Regions from separate parts of the Homo sapiens genome. Here regions 1, 2, 4 and 5 are each linked to region 3. Evidence: promoter capture Hi-C in 16 types of primary human blood cells and fetal thymus (Javierre and others, 2016). All regions are on one chromosome and are shown on one strand. The core of a region is centred on a gene start or on the middle of the fragment in contact, and the rest is flanking DNA. Distances in the headings are between cores, read along the strand shown. Region 1 overlaps MLEC (malectin). Region 2 overlaps RNF10 (ring finger protein 10). Region 3 holds the start of C12orf43 (chromosome 12 open reading frame 43). Region 4 has its middle 17 kb from the start of CABP1-DT. Region 5 has its middle 2.8 kb from the start of POP5.

Region 1 (2,700 bases), core at 20-2,519, 320 kb after region 3:
GACGTCTGAAGTCTTATCTAGACATAACTTCAGACCGTACCTAACTCCCAGTGCTGGTCGTCTCAGGTAATAAGATGGCATTTCCCTGCTGTTAATTTCTAACCTAAAAAAAGGAACAGTGACTCCTCTGAGTTCAGAGTCCTTTCCACTAGGTATACAAATGAGGATCCTTGAGCAGGAAGGATCCAGTTTACCCTAAGTATCCTCAAGAGGAAAGAGAAGGCTGGGAGCCAGCCACAAAGAGAGGACGAGGACTGAAGCACGTCTGGGACCAGGTGGTGAATGAGGGCTGCTCTCTACTCGCTCTGCCTCTTTTTGTCTCCTTTAATTGATGTGTGTTTTTTTCTCTTTGTTTTTGTTCATTAATCATTGTGAAAAATACAGAAACCAAAACCAATATGGCTGGTTTCTTTCCCACACCCCTCCACCCTGTTCAGGATAGTCATTTGTTCTCACAACCGGCAGAGGCAGAAGAGGGTTGGAATGAAGACTCCGAAGGCCACCAGGATGGGAAACATGAGGCTGCTGTTGTCCGAGGCATAGGGGTTGGGTGTGCGGGGGCCTGACTGCACCCGGTTCTTATTGGTCTGTTTTTTGAGATTAGACCCTTCATCATATTCTTCTTCTTCTTCTTCCTCTTCTTTCTTCTCCAATCCCGGATGAGGCTGAAGCTTTGGTACATCTAACACAAGGAAGAAAACACTGTTAAGACCCACAGCATTTAAGTAAGAGAGACCCTTAAAAGCAGCAAATAAGCCACAATAAAGAGATTGCTGTGATTGAACCCGGGTCCAGAGAAAAGACCAGAAGTAGCAGAAATAGCCTCTGGTCTACAGAACAGCAGAGTGCTGCAAAAGCTTTAGATTTAACTAGAAAGTAGAAAAAGCCGTGCTCATAGGGAGGTTCACTATCTTACCTTCCTGTTCTACTTTTACAGAGCCCCAAGATAACCAGACTGGACAGGGACAATGATCCAATGCCTAAACTTTAGCCTTTTCAAATCCCTCCTCCTCCCACAAGCCCACATTCCCTTTTGATTCACACAACAACTGAAGAAACGTTGACCCAGAGAGTTCTGGGTTCCCAGCACACACTATCCCTCTGTCCTGCCTCCTCCTCAGGGACTTGAACACAGGTCTGTTTGGTGGTAAGACATTCATCCTCCTAGATGTCATAATATCAGCATTTGGGGGACATCAAGACAACAGGATGAAATCCTCAGTGCATTCAAGATTGAGTTGGGGAAAGGTACAGAGGTGGAATGGGGGAGAAATGTCACAAAGACGCAGCTTTCTCTGCAAAAATCAGCCTGAGATGCTGGCAGCCAGGAGAATCTAAACCCTGAGAAAGAAATATACTCTAAGACTTGATCCCAAGGATAAGGAGACATAAATAAGTGAAGTTTTGTCCCAGTGCAGTCCAGCAATGCTGGAATCTTTCAGAGCATACCAAAAGCCTACAGGACTCCTCCTTTTACCTTTTTTTCCCCTAGGAAAGAGATGTCAAACAAACAGAATAAGGACAAGTTTTAGGTGATCCCAAATGACTACAAAGGTCAGGGTACACCAATAGGTACCATTATTAATCCCAATTTATAGGGAAATTAAAAGCATCCATCCAAGACAAACATCTGATTAAATGGCAGCAACAAGATATACATAGACCTGACTCCAAAGCTTGTGGCTAGTACCATGTTATGCTTCATCCTTATCCAACTGATTCTGAATCCCCTACAATTTAGCTTTAAGTGTTTCCAAAATAGTCATCAGCTCAATTACCTCCCAAGGGCTTCCTCAACCATATCCCTCCACTCAAGTCAAAAAAGCAGGTCAGAACACAACCTACCATCCACTGTCCCAGCCATGATGTAGAGTGCACAGACCTTGGGATTGTCATAGTACCCCTAGGAAAAGGGAAACAGTGGTCAACCCCACACAGCAGCAAACAACTTCCCCTGTACCCACTCTCTTCAGCAATGGGCAGAATAGGGGAATTACCTTGACAAACTCAATGTAGAGTTTCCCTGTGAAGGTGGACACCTCCCCCTGGACACTCAGCTTCCCCTTTCTGATGCTCATAGGTATAATTTCATCGTGAGCTGTGCTATGCCCAACACGATCAAAGATATCCAAGTCCTTCACCACGACGTGGCCATTCAATCGTACATCAAATACCTTCCAGGATAAGAAAAGAAAACAATGTCAAAACCATCAGCTTTACATCCTTTCAAGCAGTTGGACATCATGCACGTGTTTGGGCTTGAAGTTCAAAAATAATTTAAGAAATGATGGGTCTGGATATCCAGGGTGGTTAGCATCCTTAACCCGGGTCAAATCAAAGCCGTGTTCCTTCACTGCCCAGGAGTTCTTATATTGGCTTTAAGGAACAAAGAATACAAACAAAAAGCTTAGCATAGGAAGAAGGAAATTCACAGGAAGGGACAGAGGAAAAATAAGGCTAAAAACAAGAAGGTGCGGCAAACCATGGAGGGAAGTAGCCAGGAGGGCCTTAACAGGATCAGTTAGTTGGCAAAACAAGGATTCTGGCATTGCTTTCTGTCACTCACCCCCAAGGCAAGTGCAGCCTTGTGCACTATGGAACATGCTTCTCTAGAGCTCATCTGTTCTGCCTTTCTGGAGAGACTCTCACACTCTCTAGCCCCATAATCGTGGATTGTCCAAGAGCAGCAATGTCCTACTG
Region 2 (2,700 bases), core at 194-2,693, 460 kb after region 3:
GAGCCTTTCATACACCATCCCTACAGGCCAGAGCCAATTAGTCACAAAATGGACTCCAGGAAGAACCAGGAACTGACCTCTGGGAAACATCTATAGAAAGGCCAGGCAGAAAAGGGTATCAAGCAGTGCACACAGCCAACAGCTGCTGCGTCACCACAGTGCCTTTATTTAGTGCTCCCATTCATAGCTTATGGGCTTGGCTGAGCTACTCACCACTTGTTCCACAAAGTCCCAGTTAACTAATGTATCAGGATCAGCAAAATGAGCTGTGTAGTCTTGGTCTTCAGACACCACAAATTGGCAGCTAGAAATAGGAAAGACAGGAAAAAGCTAGACTGTCAGGATCTACCAATAAACCCTCAGCAGAAATTGTCATCTATTCACTTAGAAATCAAATGCAGGCCATTAGCAGCCCTGGTTCATGAGGCACTGCACTAGGACCTCAGCCTCAGTTCTGAGCTCCAGCTCTGGAAAGAACCCAAAGACTCAGCAGGCAGAAGTCTAAATCCATGAACTGTTTTCTTCTGCTTCAAGTCCAGCCAAATTCCCCAAAGGCATCCCTTGAACTAAAATTAACCTAGACCGTGACTCCATCAAACAGCAGTAAGCCAGATTTCCTCTCTCACCCCTTAGAACCCCAGAAAATGGCTAGTCTTCAAGGCAGTTGAAAAGACTGTTCTCGGCCAGGCACAGTGGCTCACACTTGTAATCCCAGCACTTGGGGAGGCCAAGGTGGGTGGATCACTTGAGGTCAGGAGTTAGAGACCAGCCTGGCCAACAGGGTGAAACCCCATCTCTACTAAAAATAGAAAAATTAGGCCAGGCATGGTGGCTCACACCTGTAATCCCAGCACTTTGGGAGGCCGAGGCAGGTGAATCACGAGGTCAGGAGATCAAGACCATCCTGGCTAACACGGTGAAACCCCGTTCTACTAAAAATACAAAAAAAATTAGCCGGGCATGGTGACACGCGCCTGTAGTCCCAGCTACTTAGGAGGCTAAGGCAGGAGAATCACTTGAACCTGAGAGGCAGAAGCTGCAGGGAGCCGAGATCACGCCACTACACTCCAGCCTGGGCGACAGAGGGAGACTCTGTCACCAAAAAAAAAAAAAAAACAGAAGACTGTCATTAGTATTTGAAACCAGTTCATCAGTTCATATAAAGTACAAAACGGTTACTTCAGTCTAGATCCAAAGTCAAATCTTCAATTATGACTAGGGCCACACAAAAGGAAACAAAAGGGGATCATATTTGAGCAAATGTATGCCAAGCACTTCAACTTGTCATTCAATTGTCTCTTAAGAAATTTTCTCTTCCTGGTTGGGTGCCGTGGCTCACGCCTGTAATCCCAGCACTTTGGGAGGCCGAGGCGGGTGGATCATGAAGTCAGGAGATCAAGACCATCCTGGCTAATACGGTGCAACACCATCTCTACTAAAAATACAAAAACAAAATTAGCCAGGGGGTGGGCGCCTGTAGTCCCAGCTACTCGGGAGGCTGAGGCAGGAGAATGGCATGAAGCTCCGGGAGGTGGAGCTTGCAGCGAGCTGAGATCGTGCCACTGCACTCCAGCCTGGGTGACAGAGCAAGACTTTGTCTCAAAAAAAAAAAAAAAAAAAGAATTCCTCTTCCTGGCTGGGCATGGTGGCTCATGCTTGTAATCCCAGCACTTTGGGAGGCCGAGGCAGGTGGATCACGAGGTCAGGAGTTTGAGACCAGCCTGGCCAATATGGTGAAACCCCGTCTCTATCAAAAATAAAAATAAAAAAATTAGACGGGGGTGGTGGTATGCACCTGTAGTCCCAGCTATTCGGGAGGCTGAGGCAAAAAAATCACTTAAACCCGGGAGGCAGAGGTTGCAGTGAGCCGAGATCACGCCACCGCACTCTAGCCTGGGTGGCAGAGCGAGACTACATCTCAAAAAAAAAAAAAAAAAAAAAAAAAAAAAAAAAAAAAAAAAAAAAAAAAAAAAAAAAAAAAAACCTTTCCTCTTCCTTATAAAGGAGAGGCTAAATCTCAAAGCTGTTAAGTTACTTAAGGTCAAAGGCCGAAACAAGATTCAAATCTAGGTCCAATTCCAAACATGTTTTCTACCTTATCATGATACTAAGTTATTTAAGCATTATATTAAGTACCAAAAACATCCACCTGGAAAGTGGGTAAAAGAAAGGAAGGGCGGGGCAGTGGTGAACAGAAAAAGAACGAGACCAATTCCCTTTCTGCTTCTTTCCCACAATAGCTTAAAAAAAGCCTCTCACAGAGGCACCACAGCTATCCGGAGAGTCCTACTTTCCCTTTCCTCTGAGGGGTAGCAATACTCACTTGGCCTGTAAAAAGAGTTCCTTGTTAAAAGGCTTATGTCCCCACTTGTTCCTCTTTCCCCAGCTACCATGTCCACTGCCTTCAAAGTGACCCGTCTGGCCACGGGGTTCAAAAGTGAAATTCAACAAGTGGTTCAGGTTGATCTTCTTAGGACCAGAGAACTGGGCAGGGCTAAACTCTGCCCGTTGAGCCTCTGCTACCTAGAGAGAATGAGAATGAATCAGTATTTCAGATTAGGATGACACTGATTTATAGCAGAAACCCAAAAAAAACCCTCCTTTTACACAGCTTTTTTTTTTGAGACGGAGTCTTACTCTGTCATCCAGGCTGGAGTGCAATGGCACGATCTTGGCTCACTGCAACCTCTGCCTCCCAGG
Region 3 (2,700 bases), core at 13-2,512:
GTTATTTATTTTATGGTGTCAATTTTAACATATGAATTTTGGAGGAACACATTCAGACCATATCAGTCACCTTCCTCTTCTTTGAAATAGAAAAAGCTCAAGGCCAGAGAGTTTATTTTAGTAAAGTTTTGACATACCTGTCTTCAAAGATAAAACATGAAACAGCATTCCACACACAAAAGTAAAGTGATTTTGTTCATCCTTCACTGTGAGGTATTTTAACCACAGAGATTCTAATTTTTTGGTCTTGGATGGGTCCTGGGAGTCAGTATTGCCTGGCTAATTTTTGTATTTTTAGTAGAGATGGGGTTTCACCATGTTGGTCAGGCTAGTCTCGAACTCCTGACCTCATGATCTGCCCGCCTCGGCCTCACAAAGTGTTGGGATTACAGATGTGAGCCACCGTGCCCGGACAGGATTCTGCATTTCTCTTTTTTTTTTTTCGAGACAGAGTCTCAGTCTGTTGCCCAGGCTGGAGTGCAGTGGCACGATCTTGGCTCACCTCAACCTCCACCTCCCAGGTTCAAGTGATTTTCCTGCCTCAGCCTCCTGAGTAGCTGGGACTACAGGTGCGTGCCACCATGCCCAGCTAATTTTTGTATTTTTAGTAGAGATGGGGTTTCACTATGTTGGCCAGGCTGGTCTCGAACTCCTGACCTTGTGATCTGCCTGCCTCAGCCCCCCAAAGTGTTGGGATTACAGGCGTGAGCCACCGTGCCCAGCCTGGATTCTGCATTTCTAACGAGCTCCCAGGTGTTACCAATGCTGCTGGCTCATGGACTACACTCTTAAGTAGTAAGGCCCTAGGCTATTAAAGGAAATACAGATTCCTGGATTCCACCTATCAGAGATTCTGATTCTGTTAGTATTTTCTGTGAGACCCAAAAGTCTGCAGTTTAACCAGCTCTCTAAGGTGTTTCTTAGGCCCAGCTGGACTGGGAAATTACTAGAATAAATGACATGGAATCAAAACCTGGGAACTAATCCTGGGTCTGTCATTAACTCCTTAGGAGATTCCCATCCCCTCTGGAGATCTGTCATCAAGAAATGATTGGAGAAGTTAATCTCTTAGGCCCTTCTAGCTCTTGCCTTTGAGAACCGCCCACCTCCCCATTCCCACCTGGTATCCCCAACCCAGTACAGTTCATGGCCAATGGCGGTCCAAGTCTTGGAACTACAATCCCCACAATGCCTCGCGCCTCTCCTCTCACGTGACGTCATGAAGGAGGCTTGATAACGGCGGTGTTCTCCACAATCCTTTGCGGTGGTTCAAGATGGCGGCGCCCAGTGGCACAGTGAGCGATTCGGAAAGTAGTAACAGCAGTAGCGATGCGGAGGAGCTGGAGCGGTGCCGCGAGGCGGCAATGCCGGCTTGGGGCTTGGAGCAACGCCCGCACGTGGCAGGGAAGCCAAGAGCCGGTAGGGTACTATGTTTGGGGAGACTGGCTGAGGGGCGTGGGATCTTCCCCTGGAGCCTGAGAGGATGGATGGTGAGGAGAGAGTCACTGGGACTCGGCTTCCTTCCCCGAGAGACCTCCAGGGACTGGGTGTAGTGCAGATTGAAAGCATGGGCAGGTGCAGTAGGGAGGGTATTTCATTATTCCAGTCGGGGAAGCTGAGGTACCCAAATGTCTTTTGATTCTGCCTCCTTGGGTCTATCCTCACTGCCCCACACTGGGAAGGCTGCCGTCTCTTCGAGATAACTGCAACAGCCCCCTCCCGGTATTCTCGCACCCAGCCTTTCCCCACCTCCAACACATTCTCCCACCCTGGAGGTTGTTGCCAAGAGCAGTGCCCAGCACATCACTCTGACCGTGACTCCCTAGTGCCCTGGGAATAAATACAGAGCCCCGCAACATCAAGGGGCCTAATCATGGATAGAACCCAAGGGTTCTTGAATTTGGAATGAAAACATGTTGCATCTTTGCTTTCTATTCATCTCTGACTGAATTTTAGCATCTCTTTCCGTCTTGCAAGCACTAAGCCACAGTAGTTCTGGCAATGCCGTTACTTTATCCCAACAGAAGTCACAGATTTTCATATCTCATTACAATCTTTGCAGATACAGATATCAATATATCATTTTATTGATAAAAAGATATTGGGGAAAAAAGTCATTTACACTCATCCCTGATTTAAAATGTGCCACTCTAATTTTTAGACCCATCTCTATATCTAAGATGTAAGAAGCACATACATCACAAGTTTGGTTGTTTACTATCATGATAATTAAATTTCGGTATCATTGGTTTTCTTTGTAATCCTGTATGTTGCATTTCATGCATTTAAAACATTGCTCTGAGAAGAGAACCGGGCTTCACCAGGCTGTTAGAGAAGGCTATGGCAAAGCAAGGTTAAGAACCGCTGGATTTGTTTAAAAGGACTTACAAGCCCTTTGGTGATCCATTGCCTTCCTCTCCCTTCCTTCCCTCCTGCCATACTGCACTTCCTGTAGGTAGCTTCCAGACCATAGTCTGCCCCTCTCACCCCCTAGTACCATAACCACAGTTTTCTCTGCAAGTTCTATTTACAGATCTGCCTTTCCATCTCATTAGCGGTGGGAACTTGAGCAAAGTACTTAAATCTCACTGTACCTAAATTTCCTCATCTGTACAGTGCGGGTAGTGATAGTACCCACCCCATAAGGTTGAGAAGTAACTGAGATAATGCAATCTACAGTGCTTGGCACATCTTAAAGGC
Region 4 (2,700 bases), core at 71-2,570, 390 kb after region 3:
CACAAGTGCAGTACTGGGATTCCAAAGGCGCAAGCTCTCTTAAGTCCTCCCATATTCATAAGTAAAGTTTGTTTTCCCAAATTGTAGCCACCACTGGGACGGAGTTCCTTCTCTTCTTTTCTGGTAACCCCAAGCCAGCTGCCTGCATAGATTTATGTCCTGGCTGTGTGACCTTGGGCCAAGTCATATCATTACTGAGCCTGAGTTTCATCATCTGTAAAATGATCATGTAAGCCCGACCCGGTGGCTCACGCCTGTAAACCCAGCACTCTGGGAGGCCGAGGCGGGCGGATCACGAGGTTAGGAGATCGAGACCATCCTGGCTAACACGGTGAAACCCTGTCTCTACTAAAAAATACAAAAATTTAGCGAGGCGTGGTGGCCTGGGCCTGTAGTCCCAGCTACTCAGGAGGCTGAGGCAGGAGAATCGCTTGAACCAGGGAGGCGGAGGTTGCAGTGAGCCAAGATCACGCCACTGCACTCCAGCCTGGGCAACAGAGCGAGACTCCGTCCCAAAAAAAAAATTGATGACATAGTCAAACACTGTGGCACACGCCTGTAGTCCCAGCTACTTGGAAGGCTGAGGTGGGAGATCTCTTGACCCCAGGAATTCAAGGCTGCAGTGAGCTATGATCACACCACAGCACTCCAGCCTGGGCGACAGAGTGAGGCCCCACCTCTTAAAAAAAAAATGGGCTGGGCACGGTGGCTCATGCCTGTAATCCCAGCACTTTGGGAGGCCAAGGCGGGTGGATCACAAGGTCAGGAGATCAAAACCATCCTGGCTAACATGGTGAAACCCCGTCTCTACTAAAAATACAAAAATTAGCTGGGCGTGGTTGCGTGCACCTGTGGCTCCAGCTACTCGGGAGGCTGAGGCAGGAGAATTGCTTGAACCCAGGAGGCGGAGCTTGCAGTGAGCTAAGATCGCGCTACTGCACTGCAGCCTGGCGACAGAGCGAGACTCTGTCTCAAAAGAAAAAAAAATGATGACAATATTGCCTGTCTTTCATGACTTATGAAAACTAACTCTTCCAACAAAAATCTAGTGATCCCTACCAGATGCTAGGTATTATGCTAGTCCCAGGGAGTGCACCATAAAAAGAAGAGAAAACAAGAGATCATCTGGCAATTAAGCCAGATAGCGTGTGAACATGCTAATAAACTCCAAAGCCCTGTCAGGGATTGTTCTAGAAACCTGGGCAAGGTTGGACCCATTTCTCATTAAGAACAGATGAGATCTAAAAATGGGCTTGGCATCCCCATTGAAGCCTGCAGTTCTCCTGCAGGCTTCCCTTGTTGGAAGGTGGGCAGTTCTGCTGTGGGTTTCTCACAGCTGGCTCCTGAGGAAGTGGAAACAGCCTGTTACAGGTGTGGGGAATCACAGCCAGCAGGCTCGTCCCTTACATCTCCAGATCAGTGGGCGTTTCCATTGATTCATTAGAGAAGGGTCCGCGGTGCCCTTGGAGATTTCTACTTTTTGCTCCACTGCAAACAAAAAGAAACAGAAAGACAGAATTTGGGCCTATGCTGACATTTTGCTGGAATGTCCCGTCTCACCCAGGTTCTCAAACACATTTAGAAGCTCGGTCACACAAATGCATCTTGTCAAAGCCCCTTATTCAGATACAAGAGTGCTGGCATGTGCCTGGCTCAAAGTCTAGCCTAGGAGAAAAATATCAAGCCAGGCCTTGGCCAGTTCTCCTTTTAGCAGATATTGTGGGGAGAAACAAAACAAAACAAAACAAAACAAAAGAAATAAACAAAAACCCTTAAGTGCCAGGATGAAGGGACAGAGCCCCAGGATGTCTAAACTGGAAGGCCAGTGAGTTCAACAGACTGAGGCCCAGAGAGGTGAGATTCACTACCCAGGGCCACACAGCAAGGCCGTGAAAATCCCAGCGAATTCATGGAGCCAACACCTATTTTTTTGAGTGCCAGCTATGCACCAGGCACTATTCTAGACCTTATGGAGAGAGCAGAGTCAAAACAGACAAAAACTCCTATCGTCTTGGAGCTCACGTTCTGGTAGAAGGAACCAGACAATAAAAAGATGAGTTAGTAAGATACATAGTATGCTGGATGACAATAAATGCGACGGAGAAAAATGAAGCTGGGAAAGGGAATAAGGAGTGTATATTGCATGGATGTGATTTTAAGTAGGGTGGTCAGGGAAGGCCTCCCTGAGAAGTTAGCATTTGAGCAAAGACCTGAAGGGGGTGAGGGACGAAAACATGCCAGTATTTGGGGGAAGAGTGTCCCAGGAGAAGAAAGCAGAGCAGAGCCACAAGGCAGGAATGGACCCAGTGCGTTCCCAGGGGCAGCAAGGAGACTGCGGGAGTGAAGTGGGTGAGCAGGAAGATAGGACGAAGAAAGGGGCAGGGACCAGGCACAGTGGCTCACGCCTGTTATCCCAAGCACTTTAGGAGGCCGAGGTGGGCGGATCACCTGAGGTCAGGAGTTCAAGACCAGCCTGGCCAACATGGTGAAACCCTGTCTCTACTAAAAATACAAAAAGTAGCCGGTGTGGTGGCGCACACATATAATGCCAACTTCTTGGGATTCTGAGGCAGGAGAATCGCTTGAACCTGGGAAGTGAGGATTGCAGTGAGCCGAGATCGTGCCACTGCACTCCAGCCTGGGTGATAGAGTGAGACTGTCTCACACACACAAAAAAGGATCAACAGGAACCAGGTCATA
Region 5 (2,700 bases), core at 41-2,540, 430 kb after region 3:
ATCGCTTGAACCTAGGAGGCAGAGGTTGCGGTGAGCCAAGATGGAGCTACTGCCCTCAAGCCTGTGGGACAGAGTGAGATCCTGTCTCAGAAAAAAAAAAAAAAAAGGCCGGTCGCGGTGGCTCACGCCTGTAATCCTAGCACTTTGGGAGGCCAAGGTGGGTGGATCACGAGGTCAGGAGATGGAGAGCATCCTGGCTAACACGGTAAAACCCTGTCTCTACTAAAAATATAAAAAATTAGCCAGGCGAGGTGGCACGTGCCCGTAGTCCCAGCTACTGGGGAGGCTGAGCCAGAAGAATCGCTTGAACCCGGGAGGCAGAGGTTGCAGTGAGCTGAGATCGCGCCACTGCACTCCAGCCTAGGCGGCAGAGGGAGACTCCATCTCAAAAAAAAAAAAAAAAAAAAAAAAAGGAATCTGAGAAGTCCCAGGACGACTGTAATAATGCTAACAGTAATGACAACAGTGACCACCCCATTGATCCAGGGGATACCTGACTCGGCTAAGGGCACAGGCTGGGGTCAGACAGACGTGGATTGGGCTCTATTGTGCACCTGGGTGAGTTGTGATGTCGCACCTGGGTGAGCTCACCTCTCAGAGCCTCATCGGCTTCCTCACCTGGGGAGGATAATGGCTCTGCGGCCCGGCTGGGGAGAGAACCGAGGAGGGGTTGGGGTGTGAGCCCCCGCCGCTGCCCCTTCGCGGCCGGCATTCCGGCGGCGGGCACGGCCGGGGCACACCCCGTCGCCGTCCAGCGGATCTCCGGGCCCCGGGGAAGACGGCCGCTCCTCCTCCATGCCTCCGCGGGCGGATTCCCCCGCAGCCTCCCGCGCCGCGCAGCGGGGACCCGGGTGATTGCAAACAGCCGCCGGCCTCATTAGGAGACTTATAATTAGCGGCTGGCGCAGCCCGAGCCGGCGCGCGCTAATTACCGCGGGGAGCCCGCCCGCCCGGCCACCGCCGGCGTCTGCACCCTCCTGGGCCAGAAGGGGCCGGGCCTGGTCCAAGACTGGGAGGCCGCGGGCCGTGCCAATGTGCTTCCTCCCGGGGCTGTGCCTGTGGGGGAAAAGTAAATCATTTGTTCAGAACAGCGTTTACTTGCCGAGGGCGGTGGCACACGCCTGTAATCCCAACACTTTGGGAGGCCGAGGCGGGCGGATCACTTGAAGTCAGGAGTTTGAGACCAGCCTGTCCAACATGGTGAAATCTCTACTAAAAATACAAAATTAGCCGGGCGTCGTGGCAGGCGCCTTAATCCCAGCTACTCTGGAGGCTGAGGCAGGAGAATTGCTTGAACCCGGGAGGCAGAGGCTGCAGTGAGCCGACATGGCGTCACTGCACTCCAGCCTGGGCGACAGAGCAAAAAACTGTCTCAAAAAATTCCTGTTGTTTGGCTATATTTTCTTTTTTCTTTTCTTGTTTTTAAGACAGTCTTAAAAATCAGTCTCAAAAAACAAACAAAACAAAAAAAACAAAAACAAAAAAAGGGCTTACTATGCACTCGCTGTGCCAGGCATTTTGTCCACATGACCCCGCTTAAACTTCATATCCACCCACGAGGGAGGAACCATTGTTATCCCATTGCACAGATGAGGAAACTAAGATCTGAGACATGAATTAACCCTCCTGACAGCACCTGGCCGGGCCAGTAAATGACGGAGTAGCGAATCGAACCTCCATCTGTCGTCTCTCCATCTTATTACACTAAATGGACGAGTGAAATCCTGCACGGGAGAGCACCAACCGTGTTGACCAGAACAAGGAGTCAGCTGGCTTTGGGTTCGAATTCTGATCCTGCTCCTAACTGGATACGAGGCTTTGGTCTGAGCCCCAACTGCATCTATAAAATGGGCGAAGCATTGCTGTTGAAATGAAGGCTGGGAGGAGTGAAATTTCTATGAGGGGTGGAGCGCTCAGGAGTTGGGGGTGTCTTGCTCTCTCCGCGCACTGCGGACCTCTGGCGCCCCCTGTTGGCCAAAGGAGGATGTCGCAGACACTTTCTGGTGAAAAGTTGTTCTTGGGTGGGGAGTGCCGTCACTGTCACTGGTCCCTTGGCAGGGCCACGGCGTTCCCTCTTCCTATTCTTTTCTTCCCTACCTTCCCCCACATCCCTCCTTTAAGGTGGCCAAGAAGAGTGGGAGATGGGAAAATTCAGAACTCATTCCAGATCTTGCAAAAATAGGTTGTGAAAGCTGCCCCCATTACGGACCTCACAGGACCAGCCAAGGCCAAGACACTTCTACAAATAATCAGGGATGGGCATAAAGACTAAGCTACAAAGCCATGCATCAAAGTATTGGGTATAACAAGAAAATCTAGAAATAATGTAAACGTCTACCAAAGGGATACTGACCAACTTCACAATGGTACGTCCAAACAATGCAATACTGCACAGCTAAAAAACAGTATTGTCGCTGAAGAGCTGACATGAAAATATAGCCAAATGGCCAGGCGTGGTAGCTCACGCCTGTAATCCCAGCACTTTGGGAGGCCGAGGTGGGTGGATCACCTGAGGTCAGGAGTTCAAGACCAGCCTGGCCAACATGGGGAAACCCTGTCCCTACTAAAAATACAAAAATTAGCCAGTTGTGGTGGCACACACCTGTAGTCCCAGCTACTTGGGAGGCTGAGGCAGGAGAATCGCCTGAATCCAGGAGGCAGAGGTTGCAGTGAGCTGAGATCGTGCTCCAGCTTGGGCAA

Evidence for each region. The method cuts DNA at HindIII sites, captures the fragments that hold promoters and counts their contacts. A CHiCAGO score of 5 or more calls a contact.
Region 1: a contact is called between a fragment that was not itself captured here and the fragment with the promoter of C12orf43 in region 3, in 1 of 17 cell types (erythroblasts). The highest score is 5.3, in erythroblasts.
Region 2: a fragment that was not itself captured here is called in contact with the fragment with the promoter of C12orf43 in region 3 in 1 of 17 cell types (erythroblasts); the score reaches 6.0 in erythroblasts.
Region 4: a contact is called between a fragment that was not itself captured here and the fragment with the promoter of C12orf43 in region 3, in 4 of 17 cell types (endothelial precursors, erythroblasts, M0 macrophages and 1 more). The highest score is 7.5, in endothelial precursors.
Region 5: a fragment that was not itself captured here is called in contact with the fragment with the promoter of C12orf43 in region 3 in 14 of 17 cell types (megakaryocytes, endothelial precursors, erythroblasts and 11 more); the score reaches 20.8 in megakaryocytes.

Annotation. Positions count from the first base shown.
Region 1 is chr12:120,694,298-120,696,997 of GRCh38, reverse strand. It overlaps MLEC (malectin), which reads right to left. Exons shown (of 5, transcript NM_014730.4): 3 at 1,998-2,174; 4 at 1,846-1,903; 5 at 1-682. The coding sequence ends at 453. Among named protein-coding and RNA genes, the nearest start is that of MLEC, 8.5 kb to the right of the region's middle. The HindIII fragment of the contact is 819 bases long and covers 860-1,678 here.
Region 2 is chr12:120,552,322-120,555,021 of GRCh38, reverse strand. It overlaps RNF10 (ring finger protein 10), which reads right to left. Exons shown (of 17, transcript NM_014868.5): 3 at 2,324-2,523; 4 at 214-304. Among named protein-coding and RNA genes, the nearest start is that of RNF10, 19 kb to the right of the region's middle. The HindIII fragment of the contact is 5,324 bases long and covers 1-2,700 here.
Region 3 is chr12:121,015,049-121,017,748 of GRCh38, reverse strand. C12orf43 (chromosome 12 open reading frame 43) reads left to right here and starts at 1,262. Exons shown (of 6, transcript NM_022895.3): 1 at 1,262-1,419. The coding sequence starts at 1,275. RefSeq lists a silencer at 1,166-1,359 and enhancers at 1,087-1,596, 1,568-2,083. The HindIII fragment of the contact is 10,275 bases long and covers 1-2,700 here.
Region 4 is chr12:120,622,645-120,625,344 of GRCh38, reverse strand. No RefSeq gene overlaps it. Among named protein-coding and RNA genes, the nearest start is that of CABP1-DT, 17 kb to the left of the region's middle. The HindIII fragment of the contact is 6,113 bases long and covers 1-2,700 here.
Region 5 is chr12:120,582,841-120,585,540 of GRCh38, reverse strand. No RefSeq gene overlaps it. Among named protein-coding and RNA genes, the nearest start is that of POP5, 2.8 kb to the right of the region's middle. RefSeq lists silencers at 607-676, 707-1,076. The HindIII fragment of the contact is 5,644 bases long and covers 1-2,700 here.